Linked DNA regions of Homo sapiens: all the other regions are linked to region 2. The links are contacts of gene promoters, found by promoter capture Hi-C in blood cells and fetal thymus (Javierre and others, 2016). All regions are on one chromosome and are shown on one strand. Each heading gives the region's core, a stretch centred on a gene start or on the middle of the fragment in contact. The rest is flanking DNA. Distances are from core to core; before and after follow the strand shown. Region 1 overlaps TPST1 (tyrosylprotein sulfotransferase 1). Region 2 holds the start of TPST1 (tyrosylprotein sulfotransferase 1). Region 3 has its middle 4.7 kb from the start of LINC00174. Region 4 overlaps TPST1 (tyrosylprotein sulfotransferase 1). Region 5 overlaps LINC00174 (long intergenic non-protein coding RNA 174). Region 6 has its middle 46 kb from the start of LINC00174.

The links. Contacts are between HindIII fragments. The CHiCAGO score rates a contact against its expected background, and 5 or more counts as called.
Region 1: a contact is called between a fragment that was not itself captured here and the fragment with the promoter of TPST1 in region 2, in 6 of 17 cell types (M2 macrophages, M1 macrophages, M0 macrophages and 3 more). The highest score is 15.0, in M2 macrophages.
Region 3: a fragment that was not itself captured here is called in contact with the fragment with the promoter of TPST1 in region 2 in 5 of 17 cell types (M2 macrophages, M1 macrophages, M0 macrophages and 2 more); the score reaches 12.2 in M2 macrophages.
Region 4: a fragment that was not itself captured here is called in contact with the fragment with the promoter of TPST1 in region 2 in 6 of 17 cell types (M1 macrophages, M0 macrophages, M2 macrophages and 3 more); the score reaches 18.0 in M1 macrophages.
Region 5: a contact is called between a fragment that was not itself captured here and the fragment with the promoter of TPST1 in region 2, in 7 of 17 cell types (M2 macrophages, M0 macrophages, M1 macrophages and 4 more). The highest score is 18.7, in M2 macrophages.
Region 6: a fragment that was not itself captured here is called in contact with the fragment with the promoter of TPST1 in region 2 in 3 of 17 cell types (M2 macrophages, M1 macrophages and M0 macrophages); the score reaches 7.3 in M2 macrophages.

Annotation. Positions count from the first base shown.
Region 1 is chr7:66,336,931-66,341,401 of GRCh38, forward strand. All of the region lies in intron 3 of TPST1 (tyrosylprotein sulfotransferase 1), which reads left to right. Among named protein-coding and RNA genes, the nearest start is that of LINC00174, 61 kb to the right of the region's middle. The HindIII fragment of the contact is 5,399 bases long and covers 1-4,471 here.
Region 2 is chr7:66,203,855-66,208,545 of GRCh38, forward strand. It overlaps TPST1 (tyrosylprotein sulfotransferase 1), which reads left to right and starts at 1,480. Exons shown (of 6, transcript NM_003596.4): 1 at 1,480-1,668. RefSeq lists silencers at 1,103-1,372, 1,523-1,882. The HindIII fragment of the contact is 8,515 bases long and covers 1-3,681 here.
Region 3 is chr7:66,402,943-66,407,227 of GRCh38, forward strand. No RefSeq gene overlaps it. Among named protein-coding and RNA genes, the nearest start is that of LINC00174, 4.7 kb to the left of the region's middle. The HindIII fragment of the contact is 539 bases long and covers 2,352-2,890 here.
Region 4 is chr7:66,358,104-66,362,605 of GRCh38, forward strand. It overlaps TPST1 (tyrosylprotein sulfotransferase 1), which reads left to right. Exons shown (of 6, transcript NM_003596.4): 6 at 1,792-2,340. Among named protein-coding and RNA genes, the nearest start is that of LINC00174, 40 kb to the right of the region's middle. RefSeq lists a silencer at 4,357-4,502. The HindIII fragment of the contact is 473 bases long and covers 1,850-2,322 here.
Region 5 is chr7:66,374,382-66,378,637 of GRCh38, forward strand. LINC00174 (long intergenic non-protein coding RNA 174) reads right to left here. Exons shown (of 5, transcript NR_026873.1): 5 at 1,663-4,256. Among named protein-coding and RNA genes, the nearest start is that of LINC00174, 24 kb to the right of the region's middle. The HindIII fragment of the contact is 3,463 bases long and covers 345-3,807 here.
Region 6 is chr7:66,444,306-66,448,455 of GRCh38, forward strand. It overlaps the pseudogene RABGEF1P2. Among named protein-coding and RNA genes, the nearest start is that of LINC00174, 46 kb to the left of the region's middle. The HindIII fragment of the contact is 2,466 bases long and covers 609-3,074 here.

The DNA of each region.
Region 1 (4,471 bases), core at 1,005-3,504, 130 kb after region 2:
GCAAAGAGTGGAATGGTATATTTAGAGTGCTGAAGGAAAAGAAAAAAACTGCCAAGCAAGAATACTGTACCCAGCAAAGTTACCCTTTATAAACACAAAGGCAAGATAAAGATTTTTCCAGACAAACAAAAGTTGAGGGAATTCATCAACACCAGACCTGTCTTACAAAAAATGCTAAAGGGAGCTGTTCAGTCAGAAAGTGAAGGATGCTAATGGGTAAAAAGAAAGCATCTAATGGCATTAAACTCACCGGCAAAAGAAAGAAAACTCACTGGTAAAAGAAGACTTCTGAAAAATTCAGAATATTGTAATACTGCAAATGGGATGAGTAAACCACTTATATTTTAAGTATGAAGACTAAAAGACAAATTTTTTTTTTTTTTTTTTTTTTTTTTAAGACAGAGCCTCGCTCTGTCACTCAAGCTGGAGAGTGCAGTGGTGCAATCTCAGCTCACTGCAACCTGCACCTCCTGGGTTGAAGTGATTCTCATGCCTCAGCCTCCGAGTAACTGGGATTACAGATATGTGCCAACACACCTGGCTTATTTTTGTATTTTTAGTAGAGACAGTATTTCACAATGTTGGCCAGGCTGGTCTCGAACTCCTGACCTCAGGTGATCCGCCCATCTCGGCCTCCTGAAGTGCTGGGATTACAGGCTTGAGCCACCATGTCCGGCCGACAAAACTATTAAAAACAGTAACTACAACGGTTATTTAGGAGACAGACAATTGTTTAAGCAATAAAAAGATTAAATCAAAACATCAAAAAGTCAAAATGGCAATGGCGGTGTTAAAGTATAGAGTTTTTGTTACTTTTCTTTGCAAAGTTAAGTGATTATCAGTTTAAAATAACCTATTATAAGATTTTTTTGTAAGCCTCACAGTAACCATAAAGCAAAAACCTATAATAGATACACTAAAAATAAATAGCACAAAATCAAAGCACGCTGCTAGAGAAAATCACTTACCATAGAGGAAGACAGTAAGAGAGGAAAATAGGAAGAAAGAATCTACAAAGCAACCAAAAACAAGGAACAGTATGGCAGTAGTAAACCCTTACCTGTCAGTAATAACTTTGAATATAAATGGATTAAATTCTTCAATTAAGAGTGGCAGAATGGATTAAAAAACAAGACCCATCCATATGCTGGCTACAAGAAACTCACTTCATCTGTAAAGATAAGCACAGACTGAAAGTGAAGGTATGGAAAAAGATAATTTATGCAAATGGAAACCAAAAAAGAGCAAGAGAGCCTATAGTTTTATCACATAAAATAAACTTAAATCAAGATGGTTAAAAAAAAGACAAGGCCATTATATAACGACAAAGGGGTCAGTACAGCAAGAGGATATAACAATGGTAAATATATATACACCCAACACCAGAGCACCCAAATATATAAAGCAAATATTAATAGACCTAAAGAGAGAGATAGACTGCAATACAGTAATACTAGGGAACATCCACACTTTCAATGTGAACAGATCATCCAGACAGAAAAGAAACAAAGAAACGTAGACATTAAACTGTACTCTGGACCAAATGGACCTAACAGATATTTACAGAACATTCCATCCAACAGTTGCAGAATACACATTTTTCTCAACAGCACATGGAATATTCTCCAGGATTGATCATACATTAGGTCACAAAACAAGTTTTAACAAATTTTTAAAATTGAAATTATATTTATCTTGTCACAGTGGAATAAAACTAGAAATCTATAATCAGAGGAACATTGGAAACAGTACAAATTAATGGAAATTAAACAACAAATGGACCAATGAAGAAATTTTAAAGTAAATTTTAAAATTTCTTGAGACAAATGAAAATGGAAACAAAATACCAAAACCTATGGGATACAGCAAAAGCGGTTCTAAGAGGGAAGTGTATAGCAATAAACGTCTATATCAAAAAAGTAAAAAGACTTCAAATAACCTAACGATACACCTCAAGGAACTAGAAAAGCAAAACCAAACAAACCCCCAATTTTTTGTTCTTTTTTTCTCCGTGAAAAAAGGCATCTAAAAAACAAACCAATGTTAATAGAAAGAAATAATAAAAGAGCAGAAGTAAATGAAACCAAGACTAAAAGAATACAAAGATCAATGAAATGAAAATGTTTTTTTGAATAGGTAATCAAAATTGGCAAACCTTTCAGAAGACTAAGTGTTGGGGGGTGGTGGGTGGGGGGAGAGAAGACCCAAATAAGCAAAACCAGAGGTGAAAAATGGGACATTGTAAGTGATACCACCGATATACAAAAAGATCATTAGAGACTACTATGAACAACTATACACCAAAAAATTGCAAAGCCTAGAAGGAATGTGTAAATTCTCTGACACATACAACCTACCAAGATTGAATCAGGAAGAAACAAAAGACCTCAACAAACCAATAATGAGTAATGAGATTGAAGCCATATAAAAAAAGTCTCTCAACCAAGAAAAGCCCAGGACCTGTTGCTTCACTGCTAAATTCTGCCAGACATTTAAAGAACTAATACCAATCCTACTCAAACTCCTCAAAACAAAAATTTTTTTGGAAGAGAAGGGATTACTTCCCAACTCATTCTACAAGGGCAACATTACCCTGATACCAAAACCAGACAGGATGCAACAAGAAAATGACAGGCCAACATCCCTGATGAACACAGATGCAAAAATCCTCAACAAAATACTAACAAACCAAGTGCAACAATACATTAAAAAGATCATCCTGGGATACGAAGAGGGGAAGAACAGACTTACTTGAGGGTGGGGGGTTGGAGGAAGGAGAGGATCAGAAAAAATACCTATTCGGTACTATGCTTATTACCTGAGTGATGAAATAATCTGTACACCAAGCCTCTGTGACACACAGTTTACCCACATAACAAACCAGCACATGTACCCCTCAACCTAAAAAAAAAAAAAAAAAAAATCATCATGATAAAGTGGAAATCCGAGGGATGCAAGGATGATTCAGCATACCCAAATCAATAAACATAGTACATTACATTAATACAATCAAGACCAAAAACCATATGATGATTTCAATAGATGCTCAAAAAGCATTCAGTAGAATTCAGCATCCCTTCTTGATAAAAATTCTCAACAAACGGTATAGAAGGAACATACTTCGGTGAGGTGTAGTGGCTCATGCCTGTAATCCCAGCAATTTGGGAGGCTGAGGTGAGTGGATCCCTTGAAGTCAGGAGTTTGAGACCAGCCTGGCCCACATGGTGAAACCCCATCTCTACTAAAAATACAAAGCCTGGGTGATAGAGCGAGACTTTATCTCAAAAAAGAAAAAAAAAAGAAGGAACATATCTCAAACCATATATGACAAACCCACAGCTAACGTCATGTTCAACAGTGAAAAGCTGAATAATGAATAATTTTTCTCTAAGATTAGGAACAGACAAGGATGCCCACTCTAACCACTTCTGTTCAACTTAGTACTTGAGGTCCTAGCCCAAGCAATTAGGCAAGAGAAAGAAATAAAGGGTACCCAAATTGGAAAGGAAGAAACCACATTATCTTTATTTGCAGATAACATGATCCTGTATTTAGAAAAACCTGAAGACTCCTCCAAAAACTGCTAGAACTGATAAACAAATTCACTTAAGTTTCATGATACAAAATCAACATAACAAAAATCTGTAGCATTTCTATACATCAACAGCAAGCAATCTGAAAAAGAAATCAGAAAAGCAATCCCATTTACATAGCTACAAAAAAAATAAAATACCTAGGCATGAACTTAACCAAATAAGTGAAGAATCTCTGTGATGAAAACTGTAAAAGACTGATGACAGAAATTGAAGAGGACATATAGAAAATGAAAAGATACTTCATACTCATGGATTAGAAGAATTAATATTGTTATGGAGTTCGAGACCAGCCTGGCCAACATAGTGAAACCCCATCTCTACTAAAAATAGAAAAATTAGCCAGGCCTGGTTGTGGGTGCCTATAATCCCAGCTACTCAGGAGGCTGAGGCAGGAGAATCACTTGAACCTGGGAGGCAGAGGGTGCACCAAGCCGAGATCATGCCACTGCACTCCAGCCTGGGTGACAGAGTGAGACTCCGTCTCAAAAGTCAGTATTACCCAAAGTAATCTACAGAGTCAGTATAATCTCTATCAAAATACCAATGACATTTTTCACAGAAATAGAAAAAACCTAAAATTTGTGTGGAATGACAAAAGACCTTGAATACCTAAAGCTATCCTGAGCAGAAAGAACAAAGTTGGAGACATCTCACTGCCTGACTTTGAATACCACAAAGCTATGGTAACCAAAACACCATGGTTCTATATATATGTGCACACATTTTATACACACATAGGTATATAAAACACCTACAAATTTTTGTTTTTTGAGACAGAGTCTCGCTCTGTTGCCCAGGCTGGAGTGCAGTGGCATGATCTTGGCTCACTGCAACCTCCGCCTCCTGGGTTCAAGCAATTCTCTGCCTCAGCCTCC
Region 2 (4,691 bases), core at 230-2,729:
GTCCATCAATGGATTAATGGATAAATAAAAGATGATGTCCAGCCAGGCACGGTGGCCCATGCCTGTAATCCCAGCACTTTGGGAGGCCAAGGCAGGCAGATCACTTGAGGCCAGGAGTTCAAGATCAGCCTGGGCAACTTGATGAAACCCCGTCTCTACTAAAAATATAAAAATTAGCCAGGCATGGTGGCACATGCATGTAATTCTAGCTACTTTGGAGGCGGAGGCATGAGAATCACTTGAGCCCAGGAGGTGGAGGTTGCAGTGAGCCAAGATCACATAACTCCACTCCAGCCTGGGAGACAGAGTGAGACTCTTCAAAAAAAAAAAAGGTGATGTCTGTATAATGGACTATTATTCGGCCGTAACAAGGAATGAAGTGCCGATACATGCTACAACATGGATGAACTTTGAAAATATTATACTGTGTGCAAAGGAAGGTAGTTACCTTCCCGGGTTCAAGCAATTCTCCTGCCACAGCCTCCCCAGTAGCTGGGACGACAGGCGTCCGCCACCATGCCCGGCTAATTTTTGTATTTTTAGCAGGGACGGGGTTTCACTATGTTGGCCAGGCTGGTCTCGAACTCCTGACCTCAGGTGATTCACCAGCTTTGGCTTCCCAAAGTGCTGTGATTAGAGGCATGAGCCACCCCACCTGGCCTAGCAGAGAGCAATTTTGAATACAGCTGTTAGATTCTGCACTCATGCCTTCTCTAATCCATGTCACTGGAGTAGAAATAATTGCTTTGACAGAACCTGGTGTAGATGTGTCTGTAGGAAGAAACTGTAAAATGAATGGATCATTTTGTGAAATATCTGCCCTTTCCCCACCTTTCTTTTGCTTCTTTGCCTTTTTCTCCCTAGTTTTCATTTCTTTCTTTTAGGGCGTCAGCCCCCCACCTCTGTGGTTGGGAGGGACTATTGCACGTCTACACTCTCGTGGGGATGAAATAGTGTTTGAGTTCGTTATTTGCATTTGCGCGTTATCTCCCCGAGGAGATGACAGCTTCTCTGCCAGCAGCGGGCAAAGGTGGGCTCTGAAGCAGAGGAGAGGAATTATCAGGAAAAGCTCATTTTCTTCTCCTGTCCTAGGGTTTCACTGATGAAGGCCTCTGGGACACCCACGTTGGGGGTGGGGGCGGTGAGGACCGCCACCTGCCCGCGGCTCCCCTGCAGCCAGGCCACGCGCGCTGTTGCTAGGGCAACCACCCGGCCAGGCCTGCGGCTGCCGGGAAGCCCCCTCGGGAGCGCGCACGGGAAGGGCTGTGGGGGCGCTGGCCGGCTGCGACGTCAGACCCCCGCCCCTCGGCGCCTGCCGGACCCAGCTCCATTCCCAGCCGCGCCTCCTTCGGTGGGCAGCCGGCCGGAACTCACGAATCAGAGCAGCCGACACATCGTCCGCTCAGCCAATCGTAGCAGATGTGTGATCCCGCCACCTCCCCGGACCCTGGCGGTTGTCGCTGAGTTGGCGACCGCGGGAGACGCTGCTGAGGCGGCTTCGGTTGCGGGTCGGAACGGCGCTGCTCTGCGGGGCCGGTCCAGGCTGGCAGCTGCCGGCGCTTGGCGGTGAGGGCGGGCTCCCGAGTGGCCCCCCACCGAAGGCGGTGGGACCAGCGGCTGAGGCCAGGATGCCGTCCAGGCGGCGCGGCGGCTCCTCACTCATCCCAGGTAAGGGGGACGCGGCGCTCGCTGCGGCTCCGCTCCCCTCTCGTCTCCTCACACCCGGCCCTGTGCCCCGTCCTGGCATCCCTTGGCCCCTTGTCGCCTTCTGCTCGGTGCCTCCCGGTTGTCCAACCCCGCCCCCGAGCGCGGAGCCCCGGGTCTGGCCCGTCCGGCCCCTGCTCCCACGCCCCTTCCCCCATCGCCGGCATTTCCCGGGCTCGGCTTCGCCCCGGCCGCCGGGGCCTCTCCCCTCTGCCCTTTCTCTCCCTTCTCGCAGCCCTGGGACCACGTCCTAGCCCCGCAGTCCCCTGGGATGAGACCCTCGTCTCGCCGGGATCGGACATTTGCCCCCACGTCTACCCCGGCTGCGCTTCTTGAGCTCATCGCCCCATCATCCTACCCGTTGTACGTAGTCCTGTCTGCATGGCAGTCGCCCGCCCCGCTCCAGGTGTCCCTGGGTCTTGCCCTTTTGCTCCTAAGCACCTTCCTTTCCCAACTCGCCTCTTCTCCCCTCACTTTGACCACCCACCATCGCAATCTCCTCTTCCTTCTCTTACTCTTAAACCTCCAGACACTTTCCCACTCTCTGCAATGCCGGATTCATCGCTTTTTTTTTTTTTTTTTTTGAGAGATGGAGTCTCTATGTTGCCCAGGCTGGCTTCGAACTCCTGACCTCAAGCTATCCTTCTGCCTCGGCCTCCAAAGTGCTGGGATTACAGGCGTGAGCCACTGCGCCTGGCTCAGATCCATAGTGTAATATCTTCATTCGTCCTTACATGAGCTGCACCCCATAACATGTAAAGTCCCTTGCCCAGAGTCTAGCACACAGTAGGCCTGGCACATGGTGGGTGGTCACGCATGTTAGCCTCTTCCTCCTTCCAGGCGTTTTGTACTTTCCAGATGATGGTAGCAAGAAGTCCAGTGTCCACAGGGATTTGACTCTGCCTGAAGAATGGTATGGGAGATGGCAGGAGAAATTGGTGAACTCCAGTAAAGCGATTAAATGGTCAATTACTGCATTCATTAAGAAGAAACAATTCTGCTATCCGTGCCATGTATTGTTTTATGTTAATTGCCTTTGTAAAGGATTCTTAGGCTGCTAGTCAGCAGGCTTTGCGGTGTAATTACTCCCCATCCCCTCTCCATCCCCATCTGCAGTGTTTGGGTAACTTTCTTTTTAGGAAAGAAAGAGCCCCTACCTCCCAGCTAAAGTGGCATAGTATATAAGCAATGTGGTACGTGTTTATCTATTAGCTGGATAGTCCAGGGAGCTGCAATGAATTTTCATCTTTTAAGATCCAGGAGGAATCAGGATTTGGATTTCCTGGAATCAGCTGCTGTACAGACCAAATATGCTTAAGAATGAAACTTCTGACAAGTCCTCTAAGAGTGAGAGAGGAATTATCCACCCCTCTCCCTCCCCCTCTCCAAACACTCGCTCTTGGAGGAAATAGCGAGTCGATTTTTAAAAAAGAGTAAAATACGTTTGACTTTTTAAAATGATAAAAGCATTGTCATTGGCCCTGTACTATTCTTGCCACCTTTGCTCTGATGGTCTCAAGCCTGGACGAATCAGTCAGCTTTTTCTGCTCCTGGGCTCCCAAGGCAGACTGGCAAAAATCATATAACTAAACTGCTGGGTGCTGTTTCTGCACTTCTGGATCCTGGAGATCCTTTGACTTAACCTCTAGATTCCTCTTATGTCCTAAAATCTAAATGGCTGTTTATGGATCTTTACCATTTTTCTCTGACTCTTTGTCCTACTCTTGCCTTCTCTTCATTGCTTATTTTGCCACTTAACTTCACAGAATAAATTGGTGGGCATCAGCCCTGAACTCTTAAGGAGAGGTCATTTTTGTCTGTGCCTGTCTGTACCTGATTTCTAATATCCTTTCCTCTGATCTCAGAAGAAGAGGGGTCTTACTTTCGAAAGCTAACGTCTTTGATCTCTTCCCATATTATTATTTTTTCTGTTGGATGGTATACATCCTCAGGTTTCCACCATTCAGACCAAAACAAAGCTTTTCTTGATGCTTCCCTTTTCTTTTTTTATTCTTCTCAGATTAACGTGGCATTCCTTAGGGTTTCATTTTTGTTCTTTTCTCTAATTTCCTTGTGTGATTACACTTCCTTTCATGGCTTCAAATAGCACCTATATATTTATGGTTTTCAAAGACGTCTATTTAGTCCCCGTTTCTCTTGAACCTCAGGTTCTAATTTTCATCTGCCTACTGCATAGCTGTATGTGGATGCTTGATTACTTCAAATGTGGTTACCTTTTCCTTCCCTTTCTCTCCACCCATAGCCCCCTTTAAGCACATATACAAACATTACTATTTTAAGATCTTTACTCTAGAAACCTTAAAATCATCTTCTTTTCTCCTCACATTAAGTCTAGCATAGATCCTATTGTTGTTGCTACCTCAGATCTTTTTTTTTCCTCTCTTCATAACATCTTTTTTTTTTCTCTCTCTTCATTGCCAGAAGACTGGTTCAGACCTTGGTTATGCTTTTTCTGAACCTCTGGGTCCTGTAGTCTACTTAATCCTCCACGTTGCTGCTGGAATTGGTTCCATTTCTGAACTATCAATCTGATCATGCTGCTTGTTTTCTTTAAAAATTCTCATCAGCTCCCAAACCCTTAGCATGTTGAGCCAGTCCTTCCAAGCCTTCTGTAGCATGGGCGCATCCCCTTCCTGGGCCCTTTGTGATCCAGAGAAAAAAGCAGTAAAGAAACAGACCATTCACTACCGTAAAATCAAGACTGTGACAGAGATGACTACAGGGTGCTCTGGGAGCATCACCCTGGTGAGAGTGAGGACAAGTTTCTGTCTACAGGCACCTAGGACTTTTTCTGACTACCCCTCCTCCTTAGTTTGGGTTAGGTGACTTTTCTTTGTGTTTCCACAGCACCCTGTACATACTTCCATCTCCATTTTTACCACTTATACCATTTTTAGTTTTTTTTTTGTGACACAGTCTTGGTCTGTTGCCCAGGCTGGAGTGCAGTGGTAACATCTTAGTTCGCT
Region 3 (4,285 bases), core at 1,371-3,870, 200 kb after region 2:
ACTACTTTGGGTGTTTCTTTTCTTGTCATTTTATTTATTTATTTATATTTTTACTTTTTTTGTGTGACAGAGTCTCACTCTTTTGCCCTGGCTGGAATGCAGTGGTGTGATCCTGACTCACTGCAACCTCCACCTCCTGGGTTCAAAAAATTCTCCTTGCCTCAACCTCCCGAGTAGCTGGGATTACAGGCATCTGCCACCATACCCAGCCAGGCTGGTTTTGAACTCCTGACCTCAAGTTATCCACCCACCTCAGCCTTTCAAAGTGCTGGGATTACAGACATAAGCCACCGCACCTGTCTTCTTGTCATTTTAATTTGATTTTTCAAAAACCGAGACAGGGTCTTGCTATCTTGCCCAGGCTGGTCTCTCTTTACTCATAGGCTCAAGTGATCCTCCCACCTCAGCCTCTCATGTAGCTGGGATTACATCAGTCACTGCACCTGACTGGTGTAACCACTTTGGAAAACAGTTTCTCAAAAGGCTAAATGTACAACATCATAGAATGCAACAATTTCTCTCCTAGGTATATATCCCAGAAAAATAAAAATGTATGTCCACACAAAAACTTGTACATGAATCTTCATAGGAGCATTATTCATTAACAGCCAATACATGGAAACAACCCAAATGTTCATCAACTGAAGAATAAATAAAATGTGGTGTTTCTGTACCATGGAATATTATTCAGCCATAGAAGGAACGAAATACTGACACATGCTATGACAGGAAGGAACTCTGAAAACACTGTGCTAAGAGGGAAAAAAAAAAACAGCCACAAACAATCACATATTGCACAACCCTATTTATATAGAAGGTCCAGATTAGGCAAATCTATGGTGACAAAAAATAGATCAGTGGTTGCCTATGGGGAACACAGAAGCGTTGAGGGGAGTAAGCCACTAGCTTACTCCCCGCCATGTTCTTAGCTAGTGGCAAAGAACAGCGGATTTCTCTATAGGGTAATGAAAGCTTCTAAAATGGATAGTGGTGATAGATCACAGCTCCATGAATATTCTAAAAACCACTGAATTGCATACTTTGATAAACAAATTGCATGGTATGTGAACTACATTTCAATAAAGTTGTTATTTAAAAAAAGAAAATAGCAGACTGGACCCAGATGGCCCATGGCTGCCTATAATCCCAGCACTTTGGGAGGCTGAGACAGGAGGATCAATTGAGGACAGGAGTTTGAGATCATCCTGGGCAGCATAACACGATCCCATCTCTACAACAAAAAAATAAAAAATTTAGCTTTGCATGGTGGTGTACGTCTGTAGTCCAAGCTACTTGGGAGGCTGAGGCGGGAGTACTGCTTGAGCCCAGGAGTTTGAATCTACAGCGAGCCATGATCACACCACTGCATTGCAACCTGAGTGACAGAGCAAGATCCTGTCTCTAAAAAGGAAAGAAAAGAAATGCAAGTTTTTATCACTTTGTGAGAGTAACCAAGTTTGTAGAGAAACACATAAGAACAAGAGCACTGAATGGTGAGAGTGGGAGGCTGGTTAGGCTCATTGCTAGCTAAGGGACTTCTGAAAAATTCATTAGTAAAATCACAGCTCTGGGGGTCAGTCAGGCAGCCAAATGATGAATGTTAAATCCATTACAAATGCCCATCGTCTTTCTTTACATCCCTTCTAATGAAAAATTCCTAACTGCCTAAATAGCAAGTGTTCTCAAATGATAGCAGCTGTTTATTAAAGAAATAACACCTCAAATTTTAAAAACCATGAGTCAAATATTATTTTCTTCCTCCCATTTTATATGTGTGCAACCTAAAGAATAGAGAATTTAAGTAATTTTTCTAAGTGGCAGAGCACAGATTTAAATCCTATTACCTTGGCCTCAGAGTTTGTGCTTTATTTTATTTTATTATTTTAAAATTCACCTTTTTTAAAACCAAGAGGCTTATGCAAAATTCTGCTAGGATTCAAAAAAAGCCTCTTGCTTTTCCTGACTGTGGGTGCAGGCAGGGCTCATGCTGCATTTTCTTTACTTATAATTGGATGGAGACATGATGGATGGAGACATGACGACAGGAGCTCTCTTGGTCATTGTGCACCAGAAAGGAGAGTGAAGAGAGGCACAGGGAAGCCAGTCTTACCATGTTTGAGCAACTGAACCAATGTCAGCCTCAGCCTACCTGCACAATTACTTTTATGTGAGAAAAACAGGCATCTCCCTATTTTGATAATCACAGCTAGCTATAGTAGCAAACAATCCTCAAGTTATTCTTGGTAACATTATTCCTACAGCCTCAATCCTTTTAACTCATTATATTAGCTGTTCATTTCTCTGTTTTTCCTGACATCTAATTGACAACCAAAAGCTTATGTTATTAAATAAGCTTTGGATTAACGGGATCAATGAATGAAGAGTTTAAAGATAGCAAAAAAAAGTTCACAGAAGTACCTGCCAAATGTGCCAACTGACTACTATGAACTAATTTACTTTTGAGAAACATGCTATTTCTTATATGCTACTGACAGTGCCTATAAAAATGGTGCACATTAACTGGCTGTTTTATTTTCTCCCCAATCTTAATATCTAATATCCACAGACTGAGATTAGAGCACCAACGTATACAATGTAACTTCATACTAGAGTTAGAAGGGGATACAAAGTGTAGAAATCATAATCTTCTCCATAAAGTTCCTGTCACCTTGGAATTAACCTCCCCTTTACATAGTCTCATTGTTCACCTTGTTCACATCTTCATGGGTTCAGGCTCAGGTCTCTGTGGTCGCACAGTGTGTCTTTTTACCAAAAGGAACACCTCATGCACTTTTCCAAAAGGAGAAAAGTAAAGGTTTGAATGGATTTTTAGTTCTCGGCATTTTTGAACAGAAATAATCAGGTATTAAGTTGCTCAAAGATCCCCACAAGCTTTCATAGGAGAAACATCTAATTCATAACCAAGAGTTTATGTTATTAAGTAAGCTTTCCTTTAACAGGATCAATGAATGAAGAGTTTAAATACTCGCTCTAATCCCCATTCAGTCATCTGGTATACTCTCTGTGAGATATACTCTCAGTCATCTGGTATACTCTCTGCGTATGCCAGATGATTAAATGGAAATTATTGCACCACTAAACACCAGTACTGCAAACTCTTATTTAAAAAATCAACACCTAGGACAGAAAAAAATGATCCTAGGCTGGGCGCGGCGGCTCACACCTGTAATCCTAGCACTTTGGGAGGCCGAAGCAGGCAGACTGCCTGAGCTCAGGAGTTTGAGACCAGCTTGGGCAACATGGTGAAACCCCATCTCTACTAAAATACAAAAAATTAGCCGGATGTAGCCAAGCGCGGTGGCTCACGCCTGTAATCCCAGCACTTTGGGAGGCAGAGGCGGGTGGATCATGAGGTCAGGAGATCGAGACCATCCTGGCTAACACAGTGAAACCCCGCCTCTACTAAAGATACAAAAAAAAAAATAGCCAGGCTTGGTGGCGGGCGCCTGTAGTCTCAGCTACTCGGGAGGCTGAGGCAGGAGAATGGCGTGAACCCAGGAGGCGGAGCTTGCAGTGAGCCGAGATCGCGCCACTGCACTCCAGCCTGGGCGACAGAGCGAGACTCCGTCTCAAAAAAAAAAAAAAAAAAAGAAAAAAAAAATTAGCCAGATGTGACAGTGTGCGCCTGTAGTCCTAGCTACTCGGAAAGTTGAGGCAGGAGAATTGCTTGAACCCAGGAGGCTGAGGCTGCAGTGAGCAGAGATCATGCCACTGCACTCCAGCCTGGATGACAGAGCGAGACTTTCATCTCCAAATAAAAAAGAATGATCCTAACGCAGTTATTTCCTTTTGCAATTATGAGGAGATGGAAGAAATACCCATATTTGATGGTTGGTTGGGAACTGTCTTTGGTATTGTATGAAGTATTTTAATACTGTGAACATGAAAAGATGAGAACCCTGCAGACCCCGTGGGCATGGAGAGAAGGAAGTACATTAGAGGGTGTCGTAGGAAATACTTTGATTCCAGGCACTGCTGTTTAAACCACCCCTCAACTTCCTTTCCTTAAAAGAATAAAAAAAAAAAAAGCAGACAAAAGATGAAACATTCCATGTGACCCTCTGCACCCTTATTTGTTGTAATAAAGGAAAAGCATTTTAGGGATTTTCTTTAGTGCAGTTTATGATGTGATCCATGTTATTTACTCCCTGTTAATAATTTTCAAAATTTCAATTAAAGACATTCAGAAATTTAGCTTTATCACAGGCAGCTGTTCACAGGTAAAACTAGTTTGGTTACCTTCATCTGTATAAACATGAAGCTA
Region 4 (4,502 bases), core at 836-3,335, 150 kb after region 2:
GGCGTGGTGGTGGGCACTTATAGTCCCAGCTACTCGGGAGGCTGAAGGAAGAGAATTGCTTGAAGCCAGGAGGCAGAGAGGTTGCAGTGAGCCGAGATTGCAGCACTGCACTCTAGCCTGGGTGACAGAGCGAGACTTCGTCTCAAAAATAAATAAATAAATAAATAAAAATAAAATCTGATATTGATAGTGATTTTTTCTCATAGTTTACTTGCTGACCTTTGTTTTTTTTTTTTATATAATGTTTTTATTTTTACTTTATATAATGATGTATTGTGCATACTCCATACCAGGCATAAAATACCAAGGATTTTATTTGCATATATATAAGATGATATATATATAACAGATACGCTAAATTATATATACATCTATATATAAAATTGTATTCAGTTCTCAAACCACTCTGGCAAGCTGGTAGTATTCCTGTTTTGCTAGTGAGAAAACAGGTTGAATGTGACTTGCGGTGCGTTGATGGATTATAGACATAAGAAGCACATGGACGCTGGTCCGTCATGTCAAAATCCCAGATGGCAGCAAGCTGCTAATATTGACAGGTTCTAGGATTCAGGTTTCCTTTTTGCTGAGGAGCAAATGCTGAATGTTAGTCTTATGCCCTGTGGGTCTGCATATTTAACAGCAGTTATCAGGCCTTGGCTAATTTTGTTTATACAAAATGCTTTCAAACTTCATAGGTAATCTCCCTGCCCGCCCCACCAAACACACACAAGGCCTCATTTCTTTACCAGCGTGTTGTAGGATGGACCGCATCAGCAGTTGCCTCTGCAGCATTTCACCCTGGCTTGTGTGTGGAGGTTGGGAGGGGCCAACCTGTGCTGAGGAGGACTCAGGAGAACTGGGGACACAGCAAAGCCCTTAGGATGGATACTATCTTTCTTATCTTTTGGGTCCCTTTGGCATTTCAATAACAGTATCTGTGTTCTCTGGAGCTTCCTTTAAAGAACCTTAGGATCCATTTCTTCACGTGAGGAGGAATCAGGGTGCTGACCCCTGGACACTTAAAGAACCTTAGGACCCATTTCTTCACATGAGGAGGAATCAGGGTGCTGACCCCTGGGACACTTAAAGAACCTTAGGACCCATTTCTTCACATGAGGAGGAATCAGGGTCTTGACCCCTGGACACTTAACCTTAGGACCCATTTCTTCACATGAGGAGGAATCAGGGTGCTGCCCCCTGGACACTTAAAGAACCTTAGGACCCATTTCTTCACATGAGGAATCAGGGTGCTGCCCCCTGGACACTTAAAGAACCTTAGGACCCATTTCTTCACATGAGGAGGAATCAGGGTGCTGCCCCCTGGACACTTGAAGAACCTTAGGACCCATTTCTTCACATAAGGAGGAATCAGGGTCTTGACCCCTGGACACTTTAAGAACCTTAGGACCCATTTCTTCACACGAGGAATCATGGTGCTGACCCCTGGACATCTGGTGCCCCTGACAGTGCCCCCACAGTAGCAACAATAGCAGATGACAGTCAGTTATTTAGAAATGGGCAGGAGCAGCCCTGGTTTTGGCCATCTGCTTGCTTTGCACCCAGCAGCTACTTGCATGCATCTGAAAGCACCAGAGTGAGGGTGTGTGTGCCTCCCAGGCAGTCTTCCTGAGGCAGCTGTTCTCAACATCCATCCTCCTGGCCCCTGATCTGCAGGAACCTCCCCAACCGCCTGGCTTGTCTAGGCCTGTAGCTGGGAAGGAAGAGACGAAGACACAGGGAGAACACACCGGGACTCCACACCTGTAACCACATTCTGTTTGTTCGCCCTAGGAAAGATTGCTGCCTTTTCAGCAGAAGGGAAATTCCTAGGATTGGCTGTCCCCTGCCAAGCTTGGTGGAGCGTCTGCACCTTGGCTGCGCCGCCTGTGCATTTGCCAGTTTCCTCCCACTGAGAGGATGGAGGTGTCCGCACAGCTTTGGGCCTCGTGAGGGATCTGCCTCCTGAGCAAAGAGCTCTTGATCCCGATTTCATGCACAGCCCTGCAGTAAGGAGCCCAGAAGGAACATGTGTTTCCTGTTAAAACTCCTCTTGTTCTCTTTTCTTACATTATGACGTTTGTTTTCAAGGAGAGGGTTTAAAAATGGGATCCTGTAAGCAGACTTGGGCAGTCTCCTTTTGAAATAGGTTGTCTGTACATGTTCTAATGTTTTGTAGAACACGTGTGCCTGTTTAAGTGTATTGATGTGAATAATATTAAATATCCTAATTATTTAATTCATTGTATTGTTTCTGAGAAGTTGGGAAATTACCATTATACATTTACAACCTAATGACTTTTGTATTTTATTTTTCAAAATAAAAGCTTTCAATGTGAAGCATTCTGGTAGTTACATGTTTTCATTAATGTGATTTCAGAGAAGCACAGACCTTATCAGATGCTGATGTGATAAACCAAAGTTTCCTTGGTTGGCTGTATTGTAGATACTCCCCTGGAGCCATCACCTTTTTTTGGAGGGGGGTGGTGGGTAGAGGCAGGGTCTCGCTACATTCCCCAGCCTGGGCTCAAACGATCCTTCTGCCTCAGCCTCCCAAAGTACTAAAATTACAGGTGTGAGCCACGGTGCTTGGCCTGCATTATCATTTTGTAGTGAAGTTTTCTTTTTATTTCAAGAGAGAACCTATTGCCATCCACTTTGAGAATCCTGTTCTATTTCATGCTTGCAGACTGTATTTAAGGACATGGAAGTTACTATTTCCACTTGTTTTCTAGAAGCCTTTGTTATGAAACCCAGGATGTCCAGATAGTAGTAATAATTCCCATATTGAGTGTGTTCACATATGTGCCAGCCATGAAAAGGGTATATAACATGTTATCCCATCTCTGCCCCAAAACTTGTACCTATCCATTTAGGTCATATCCATATCAGTAACTGCAGTATTTTCTACTGTCACTTGAGCCAGAAACTGAAGAGTCACACTTGATTTCACCCTTTTCCTCCCTCTTTCCATTCGCATCCAAGATCTTTGATCCTACCTTCAACGTATTTTTTGGATCACAGCAGAATAAGAGTTTTTAGAATGCACATCTGGACAGGAGCCTCCCCGCCTGAAACATTTCAGTGGCTTCCATTTCACTTAAAAGAGTCCAGACTCCTGTCAGGGCCGGCAGGGTCCTCCTCTCCATCTCATCGCAGGCCTCTCTCCCAACCTCACCGCTTGTGCTCTAGAAGTATCTTTATTTTCAGAACATAGCAAGTTCTTCCTGTCTCTACATATCTCCTCTCTCTGGAATGTTCTTCCCTTTGGCTATTTAAGATGAAGTTTTGCTCTGTCACCCAGCTGGCCTGCAGTAGCACAATCTCGGCTCACTGCAACCTCCGCCTCCCAGGTTCAAGCAATTTTCCTGCCTTAGCCTCCCGAGTAGCTGAAATTACAGGCATGTGCCACCACGCCCGGCTAATTTTTGTATTTTTAGTAGAGACAGGGTTTCACCATGTTCACCAGGCTGGTCTTAAACTCCCAATCTCAAATGATCCTCCCTCCTCAGCCTCCCAAAGTGCTGGGATTACAGGCGTGAGCCACCACACCCAGCCCCCTTTGTTCTTTGTCTGATAGGCTCCTTCTCAATTCTGTGGTCTCGGTAAGCCTCACTTACTCAGAGGGATTTTCCCTGGCCTCTTAAACTAAAAGGTAATTCTCCCGCTGCTTGCCTTCTTCATGGTCACACTTTGCAGTGTTTCATCTGTTTGTTGCCTTTTTTATTATCTGTCTCCTCCACCAGCCAATAAGTTCCTGGAGTTCCAAGACTATGTTTTTTCTTGTCTGTTGTACTTTTGGCACCTAGCAAACTGGCACTTTCTAGAAACCAAGTAAGGCCGGTCGCAGTGGCTAATGCCTGTAATCCCAGCACTTTGGGAGGCCGAGGTGGGCGGACCACAAGGTCAGGAGATGGAGACCATCCTGGCTACCACGGTGAAACCCTGTCTCTACTAAAAATACAAAAAATCAGCTGGGTGTGGTGGCGGGTGCCTGTAGTCCCAGCTACTTGGGAGGCTGAGGCAGGAGAATGGCATGAACCTGGGAGGCGGAGGTTGCAGTGAGCCGAGATCACACCACTGCACTCCAGCCTGGGTGATAGAGCGAGACTCCGTCTAAAAAAAAGAAAAGAAAAGAAAAGAAACCAAGTAAAATACTTGGTGAATTACTAATCCTCCAAAGAGCCTTCTGACATACATACTGTTTTACAGATCAGGAAACAGGCTCAACTAGGTCAGGTCACTTACACAAGGCCCCCCACCTAGTGCCACAGGTGACTTGGCATGTAGCTGGGCCCAGGCACAAGCCTGACTCTAATGTCCTCTGCAGTCCACTTCCCTAGCCCTGTCCCTTTCCATTTAAAATGAATATGTCCAGCCTGGGCAACATAAGGAGACCCTGTCTCTACAAAAAAAATTTTTTTAATTAGCCAGGCATGGTGTGCACCTGTAATCCCAGTTACTCGGGAGGTTGAGGCAGGAGAATTGCTTGAACCTGGGTGGCG
Region 5 (4,256 bases), core at 826-3,325, 170 kb after region 2:
TATTTCATCTTCTTAGGCCAGGAACTTATCATGACGAACCAAATGCAATACCTATTTCCTGACCAAAGCTGTTATTCAATATCTCTATCATTTGAGAAATAGTTTGATTTCACGTTGACAAGGGTCACACTGAGGTCTTAAGAGAAGTAACAATTACAAAGCATCCTAGTCCCTGTGAAAGGGTGTGATGTTCAGATACATCCAGCCCTTTAAGATGCTCTGCTGGAAGGTGGTTGAGGTGCAAAGTACTATTGACTCATGGTCATCTTGGTCCATGGTCATTAATAATGATACTTTGTACTTCTTTTGTCTTTGTTCTAAGGGTGGTTTCAAAACCTGGAAGAAGCTTATCAGTTTCTAGGTATTCAGATATCTCTTTCACAATATATATGTGTGTGTGTGTGCGCTATGAAAATATACACACACATATATTCATATACAAATATATAACACATATACATATATATATTTACAGTATACTAATCAAAAAGCAAGTTCTTTTTTTTTCTTTTGGACAGTCTCACTCTGTCACCCAGGCTGGAGTGCAGTGACACGATGTTGGCTCACTGCCACCTCCTCTCCCCGGGTTCAAGCGATTCTCCTGCTTCAGCCTCCTGAGTAGCTGCGATTATATCACACATGGCTAACTTTTGTATTTTTAGCAGATACAGGGTTTCACTGTCTTGACTAGGCTGGTCTTGAACTCCTGACCTCGTGATCCACCCACCTCGTCCCCTCAAAGTGCTGGGATTACAGGCGTGAGCCACCGTGCCCGGCATAAAGTAAATTCTTAATGATCTATGAAAAGAAAATGGCAGGCCAGGTGTGGATCCCACCTGTAATCCCAGCACTGTGGGAAGCTGATGTGAGAGGATCGCTTGAGCCCAGGAGTTTGAAACCAGCCTGGGAAACATGGTGAGACTTCCTGTCTAGAACAAATATAAAAATTACCTGGGCATGGCGGCTCATACCTGGGGTCCCATTTATTCAGGAGGCTGAGGTGGGAGGATCACTTAAGCCAAAAAAGCAGAGTTTGCAGTGAGCCGAGATCACACCACTGCACTCCATCCTGAATGACGAAGCAGTACCCAGCCTCAAAAAAAAAAAAAAAAAAAAAAAACCGGAAAAATTGGTATCAAAGAAAAATTTAAAGTATCTATATTTACATAAATATATATAGTCATAGAATATTAAGCAAAAAGTAAATTATTAATAGTTCATGACAGAAAAATTGCAGGCAGGGCATGATGGCTCATGCTTGTAATCTCTGCACTTTGGGAGGCCCAGGCAAAAGGAATGCTTGTGTCCAAAAGTTTGGGACCAGACTGGGCAACCTAGTGAGAAAAAACCTCATAAAAAAAACAGAAATCAGCCAGGCATATTGGCATGTGCCTATAGTCTCAGTTACTGAGTTGGGAGGATCACTTGAGGCCAAAAGGCCAAGGATGCAGTAAGCCATAATGACATGACTACACTCCAGCCTGGGTGACAGAGTAAGAACCTAAGGAAAAACAAAAAGAAAAAAAGAAAAGAAAACAGTAAATAATATAAAAACAGAAGAAATGAAGTGAGAAGCTACCATCTCCGGGGCAAAGACAAAGGGCCAAAAATTCATTCCCACCCTCACCCCCAGCAGACAAAAAAACACCATGGGACATTAAATAAAACAGAAATCACTGAAACCACAGAGAAAAAATTTATTATCAATTCGTCAGAAATCCACTCTCAAGGTTAAAAGAAGAGATGGGGTTTTCCCAAGGCACTCTGGTGTGAAGTGAAAAAAATGACAGACCAGGGAAGATTTAGTCTCCTTGATGAGGTTCACCATGGAAGACGTAAAAGCTGTATCCCGAAGAAGGGAATACAAGGCAAGAGCAAAACCAGAAAACGCAATCATCAGGCAAAAGCGAGGCCTTGAGTGACCACTATGAGGCAGAAGATGGGCGTGAAGAGACAATCCTGAGACAGGGGCTGGTGTAAGAGAGGGCCCAAAAGAGGCCAGTATGGGGCAGGGGCCGCGCCCCTCAGGGCCTACGCCGGGCAGGAGGTGGGCCTGGCGAGGCCTACTTTGGGACGCTTTGGGCCACTTTGGGCCACATCGAGGAAGGCAGCTTGGGGCCGGGAGGCGCCGTCAGGCTGGGTGGGAGCTGGGCCCGGAGAGGCCACCGCGAGGCATGAGCTGGGCCCAGAGGGGCCAGCGTGAGGCAGGAGCCGGGCTGGTGGAGGCTGCCGGGAGGCCGGCACGAGCGTGGCAGGGGAAGGCCGCCGGGAGGCGGGAGCTGGGCCTGGAAAGGCTGCTGCGAGGTGAGGCAAGGTGAGGGGAGGCGAGGCGAGGCAAGACGCGGCCCTGGAGAGCTGGACTGGAGGAGGCTTCGGGCCTACGAAGGCCGCCGGGAGCTGGGCAGGAGCCGAGTCGAAGGAGGCTGTTTGGAGACGGGAGCTGGGCCCACGGGCGCAGACGCGAGCAAAGAGCTGGGCCCGGAGAGGAGGCCGGGAGGCAGCCACTGGACCGGGGGAGGCCGACTTGAGGAAGTTCTGGGCCTGGAGAGGCCACCACAAGGGAAAAGCTGGGCCTCAAGAGGCCGCAGCGAGGCACGAGCCGGGCCTAGAGAAGCCTTCGGGACGCAGGAGCTGGGCTTGTGGCGCCTGCCGGCAGGCAGGAGCCTGGCCTGGGGAGGCCGCGGCCGGGCACGAGATGAGCCTCCTCAAGAGGCCCCCGGCAGGCGGGAGCCGGGCCTGCCGGGGCTGCCGTGAGGCAGGCGGAAACGTGGCCTGGGGAGGCCGACGTGAGGCCGCAGCTGGGCCGGGAGAGGCCGCTGGCAGGCAGGAGCCGGGTCTCTCAGGGCCGCCGGAAAGCCGAAGGTGGGTCCGGGAGGCCTGAACGCAGGGAAGCCTGGGGCCTACAACGGCTGCCAGGAGCTGGGCAGGAGCTGGGCCGAACGTGGTTGTCGTGAGGCAGGAGCTGGGCCCGTGGAGGTGGCCGGGAGAGCTGGGCCTGGAGAGGCCGACGGGAACCAGTTCTGGGCCTGGAGAGGAGGCCGAGGGGCAGGAGCCGGGCCTGGAGCGGCCGCCAACAGGCAAGAACTGGGCCTGAGGTGGCCAGGCTGAGGCAAGAGCCCGGCCCCCATGGGCCACTGTGCGGGAGAAGCTATGGTTGTTCGGGCATCCAACACACGTGCTGTTCCTGGCGAGGCTTATTTCAGGACGATTTGGGCCTGCAGAAGCCATTATCAGGAGGCAGTAGCCTGGCCTATAGAGGCTGCGAAAATTTAAATTCTTGACCTGCAGAGGCCATGATCACGTAACATCTAGGCCTGGAGGGTCCACTGTCAGGCAGCGGCGCATCCTGAAGGGGCCTACAACAGGCAGGATCTCGGCCTGTGGAGAGGCATCCCCTGATCCTAAAGAGGCCAGTGTGAGTGATCACATGGCCCACAGAAGCAAGTGTCAGGCCAGATCGTCGCTTGGAGAGTCTGAGAAAGGCATGAGATGGACCTAAACAGACCATTGCGATTCAGCACCTGGGCCTATAGAGGCCAGTGTGAGGCAGGAGCTTGACCTGGAGAGGCTGGAAGACGTATGAGCTTGTCCTAAACTGTCCAGTGTGAAGGAAGAGTTTGGTCTGTCAAGGCCGTCGGGTAACAGGCTGTAACGTGGACTGGGAAAGCAACTGTGAGGCAAGGGCTGGGCCTCGGGAGGCTGGGGGAAGGCAAGACCTGGGCCTGGGGAAGCCATCGTCAGGCAGTAGCTGGGCCTGTGAAGGCCCCTGGGCAGCATGATCTGGGCCTGGAACGCTTGACTTGAGGAAGCTTTAGGCCTACAAAGGCCGCCAGGTGCTGGGCAGGAGCCGAGCCAAAATAGGTTGTTTTGAGTCAGGAGATGGGACTGTAGACCCAGCTGGGAGGAAGAACTGGGCCTGGAGAAGGCACAGGGAGGCAGCAACTTCACCTTGCGAAGCCGAACTGAGGAATTTCTGGGCCTGGAGAAGCCACCAAAGGGAAAAGCTGGGCGTGGATAGGCCGTTTTGAGGAATGAGCTGGGCTTCAAGAGGCAATGAGATGCATGAGCTGGGCCTCTAAAGGCTGCCAAAAGGCAGGAGCTTCATCTGGGGTGGCCACCTTGAGGGATGAGATGAGCCTAACCAGGCCATTAGAGGCAGGAGCTGGGCCTATCGGATCCTGCCATGAGGCAGGCAGAAACTTGGTGTGGGAAGGCCGGCATAAAGCAAGAGTTGGGTCCATCAAGGATGCCACAAT
Region 6 (4,150 bases), core at 592-3,091, 240 kb after region 2:
AACACTTTGTTGTTTTTCTCTAAGCTTCCTAAAAATCAACCCCTATTAAGAGGCCACAAGTTTGGATTAGAGAGGGGAAAGTGAGAGACAGTTCAGGTGTTTGGTACACAGGGAGGAGGTTAGTTATGTTTGAACAGCCAATAGGGATTCAGTGTGTAAGGTGAAAGAAGTGAAGAAGAAGGAAATATGGAAAAGAACAACCTCACCCACATTACAGTTCATAGTTTTGGCTAGGGCTCAAATGGCAAGTGCTTGCTCTTCAACTTAAAGTCACCTTGCGTTTTTGTTTGTTTGTTTGTTTGTTTTTTTAATCAGGGTCTCGCTCTGTCACCCAGGCTGGAATACAGTGGCACGATCACAGCTCACTGCAGCCTCAACCTCCCAGGCTCAAATGATCCTCCGACCTCAGCCTCCAGAGTAGATGGGGCTACAGGCACTAGCCCGGCTAATTATTATTATTTTTAAGAGATGGAATCTCACTATGTTACCCAGGCTGGTCTTGAACTCTTGGGATCAAGCGATCCTCCTGCCTCAGTCTCCAAAATGCTGGAATTACAAGCATGAGCCACTGGACCAAGCTGCACCTTATGTTTTTAATACAGAAACAAAGCTTGTATTTCAGGAATAGCAAGTAGACCATGATTATCAAGCCTTCCATTGCCCAATCTCTCTCTTTTTTTTTTTTTTTTTTGAGGAGTCTCACACTCTGCAGCCCAGGCGGGAGTACACCGGCGCATTCTCGGCTCACTGCAACCTCTGCCTTCCAGGTTCAAGTGATACTCCTGCCTCAGCCTCCTAAGTAGTAGGGATTACAGGCATGGGCCACCATGCCTGGCCAATTTTTGTATTTTCAATAGAGACAGGGTTTTGCCATGTTGGCCAGGCTGGTCTCCAACTCCTGGACTCAAGTGATCTGCCTGTCTCGGCCTCCCAAAGTGTTGGGATTACGGGCGTGAGCCTCTGAACCTGGCCTGTCTCCATGCTTCTTCCACAGCCTGCAGAACTGTGAGCCAAATGAACCTCTTTCCTTTATAAGTAACCCAGCCTCAGGTATTCTTCTATAGCAATGCAAAGGGATTAAGCCATTGTTTTATGTACCTTACAGGATAGCTACCAAATTCAGGAAAATTTACATTGATAAAATACTTTTACTCAATTGAAAATCCATATTCCAAGTTTCTCAATTGTTCACAATGAGCAGTTCACAATTTTCCCAACCTTTGTTTCTCTCAGCATGACACTTCTGAAGAACACAGGCCAGGTATCTTGTTGAATGCCATTTAGATTGGGTGTCCTCATGACTGGATTCAGGTTGTTAAAAATTTTCGGCTTAGATATTTCATAAATGATGTTGTGTTCTCAAAGTGTCATGTCTGGAAGCACACATGACATCTATCCTTGCCTCCTACATCCCCATTTTATAGTTACCATTTCTCTATTTATAATTAATAAATAATCTGGCTGGGCATGGTGGTTCACACCTGTAATCCCAGCACTTTGAGGCTACAGTGGTGGGATCACTTGAGGCCAGGAGTTCAAGACCAGCCTGGGCAACACAGCGAGACCCACCTCCCGTCTCCACAAAAAAAGGAAAAAAAGAAAAATAAACACATAAATAATTCATTGGCAGTGAATTTGAGATCATGTTCGTAACTTGTTTCCTGGGAAACTCCCTCCCCTCATCCAAGATTTAGCACCCAGATAAACTTTACCTGAATCAATTTTTGCTACTAACATGACTATAACCTCTCATTTGTGTATTTCTCTATTTTTTTTTATTTTTTTTTTATTTTTGAGATGGAGTCTTGCTCGTTGCCCCGGCTGGAGTGCAATGGCATGATCTCGGCTCAGCACAACCTCCGCCTCCCGGATTGAAACGAGTCTCCTGCCTCAGACTCCCAGTAGCTGGGATTGCAGGCATCTGCCACCACGCCTGGCTAATTTTGTATTTTTTTAGTAAAGACGGGTTTCTCCACGTTGGTCAGGCTGGTCTCGAACTCCCAAGCAAAGGTGATCCACCCACCTCGGCCTCCCAAAGTACTGGGATTACAGGCGTGAGCCCCCGTGCCAGCTGTATTTCTCTATTTTACTAGTTAAATTAACACACGGATTATTATTTTGTTCAGTTATACTTCATTTATTGTCCTTATTTATTGATTTCTTCACTTTATTTTTTTTTTAAGACGGAGTCTCGCTTGTTGCCCAGGCTGGAGTGCAGTGGCACGATCTCAGCTCACTGCAATCTCCACCTCCTGGGTTCAAGCCATTCTCCTGACTCTGCCTCCCAAGTAGCTGGGATTACAGGCACACACCTCCACACCTGACTAATTTGGTATTTTTAGTAGAGATGGGGTTGTGCCAAAAAAAAAAAAAAAAAGACAGAGATGCGGTTGCACCATGTTGGCCAGGCTGGTCTCGAACTCCCGACCTTAGGTGATCTGCCTAACTTGGCCTCCCAAAGTGCTGGGATGACAGGTGTGAGCCACCGTGCCCGGCCTTATTGTCCTTGTTTATTTTGACACTCAAATTATCCCAGACTTGGCCAGTGGAAACCCCTCCAAGCTGGCTTCTAGATCTTCTGAAATGTAACCAAAATATTGAAGGGGCCTTTTTTTCCCTGCCCCAGCCCCAGAATCAGTCATTTCTCTAAGAAGCCCTGGCTCACTTTAATGAATAATACTATTTAGAATCTAAGGTCTGGGTGGTATTGGTATTTTAACTCTAAAAAAGAAAAGATACGCTTTGGAGGATCACTGTCTTTAGATCTGTTTGTGAAAGAGGTACACAAGATTCTACTTGGGATGACAAGATTATAGGAGTTCTGAAAGAAAAGGGCACTTTGGAATGTATAAGCAAGTGATCTCAGCTTGGCCAACCACTATGACTTCCTCTATACAGCTCACTCACCATGACTGTGGAGACTAAAACACTTTAACTGAGTCTTTACAGTCAAGACATTCCATTTACTTTCTCTGAAAGTGAATCCAACTCTAAAAAAATGTGAAAATATTCTTCAAATTCCTTAGAAGGTTATTTGTATTTTGTCTGCTACCAAGCTGCTGTGTATGGCGAAAAGCTTTCCTTTATGTTACTAACAGAAACAAGCAAAATACCAAGAGCAAGGGCATCACGGACTAAAGAAGATCAAGAATACAAAATCCAAAAAGTCTGTTTCTAGTCTAGACCCAATACATTAAAACTGCACTTAGGCTAACCTTATCCAAACACGATGGCCAAACAAGTAATCAGTGTGAAATGCAAAATTTACCTGGCTAACTTATATTAAGTGATCTGTGAAACAAAGACATAATGGAATCTTCTCTTCTAACATAAATTTTCAAATACTTTAAGATCTTTATCCCCAAAGCTTTCTACTGACAAAAAGCAACTAAAGAACAAAAAATAGAAAGTACAAATCTACCATTCAAAAAGATGCGGGGTGGGGAGAAACAAGAACAAAGGTAAAAACCATTCTGCATACACATTTTTAAAATAAAAGTCACTTGGATTGTTTCTTTTTTTAACTAATTAATTTTTTCAAAGATGGTGTCTCACTCTGCTGCCTAGGCTGGAATACAGTGGCACAATCACAGCTCACTGCAGCCACTAACTCCTGGGCTCATGTAATCCTCCTACCTTAGTCTTCCAAGTAGCTGGGATTATAGGTAGGTACAAGCCACTGCACCCAACTCGAGAATGGTTTCTTTTTAAAGTACAGACTCTGCACTAAATTGTAAATCTTCTTTCCATAGTATCATGCACACTGTACAGAGGCTTTTGGGACACAGGTTTTTAAAACCACCAAGGAGAGTCAGCGAATATAAATGACAATTATGTACTTAAGTAACAGAAACTTGATTATATATATATATTTACTATTTATTATATACATTAAATAACCTGGGTTTCTGAAGTATACACATTGAATAAAGGAATATAATGGAAAAATATTGACCCAGGAGTTAGGAAACCTGAGTTCTCATGCACAAACTCATCGTTCAACCTTGGGTAAATTAGTTAACCTTTATGGACTTTCATATTGTCATCTGCAAAATGAGGCTATTAGAGCTGATAATTCGATGATTTTTTTTACTATTTCATCTGTTATCATACTTACCATTTCACTACATATCATCAAGAAACAGACTTT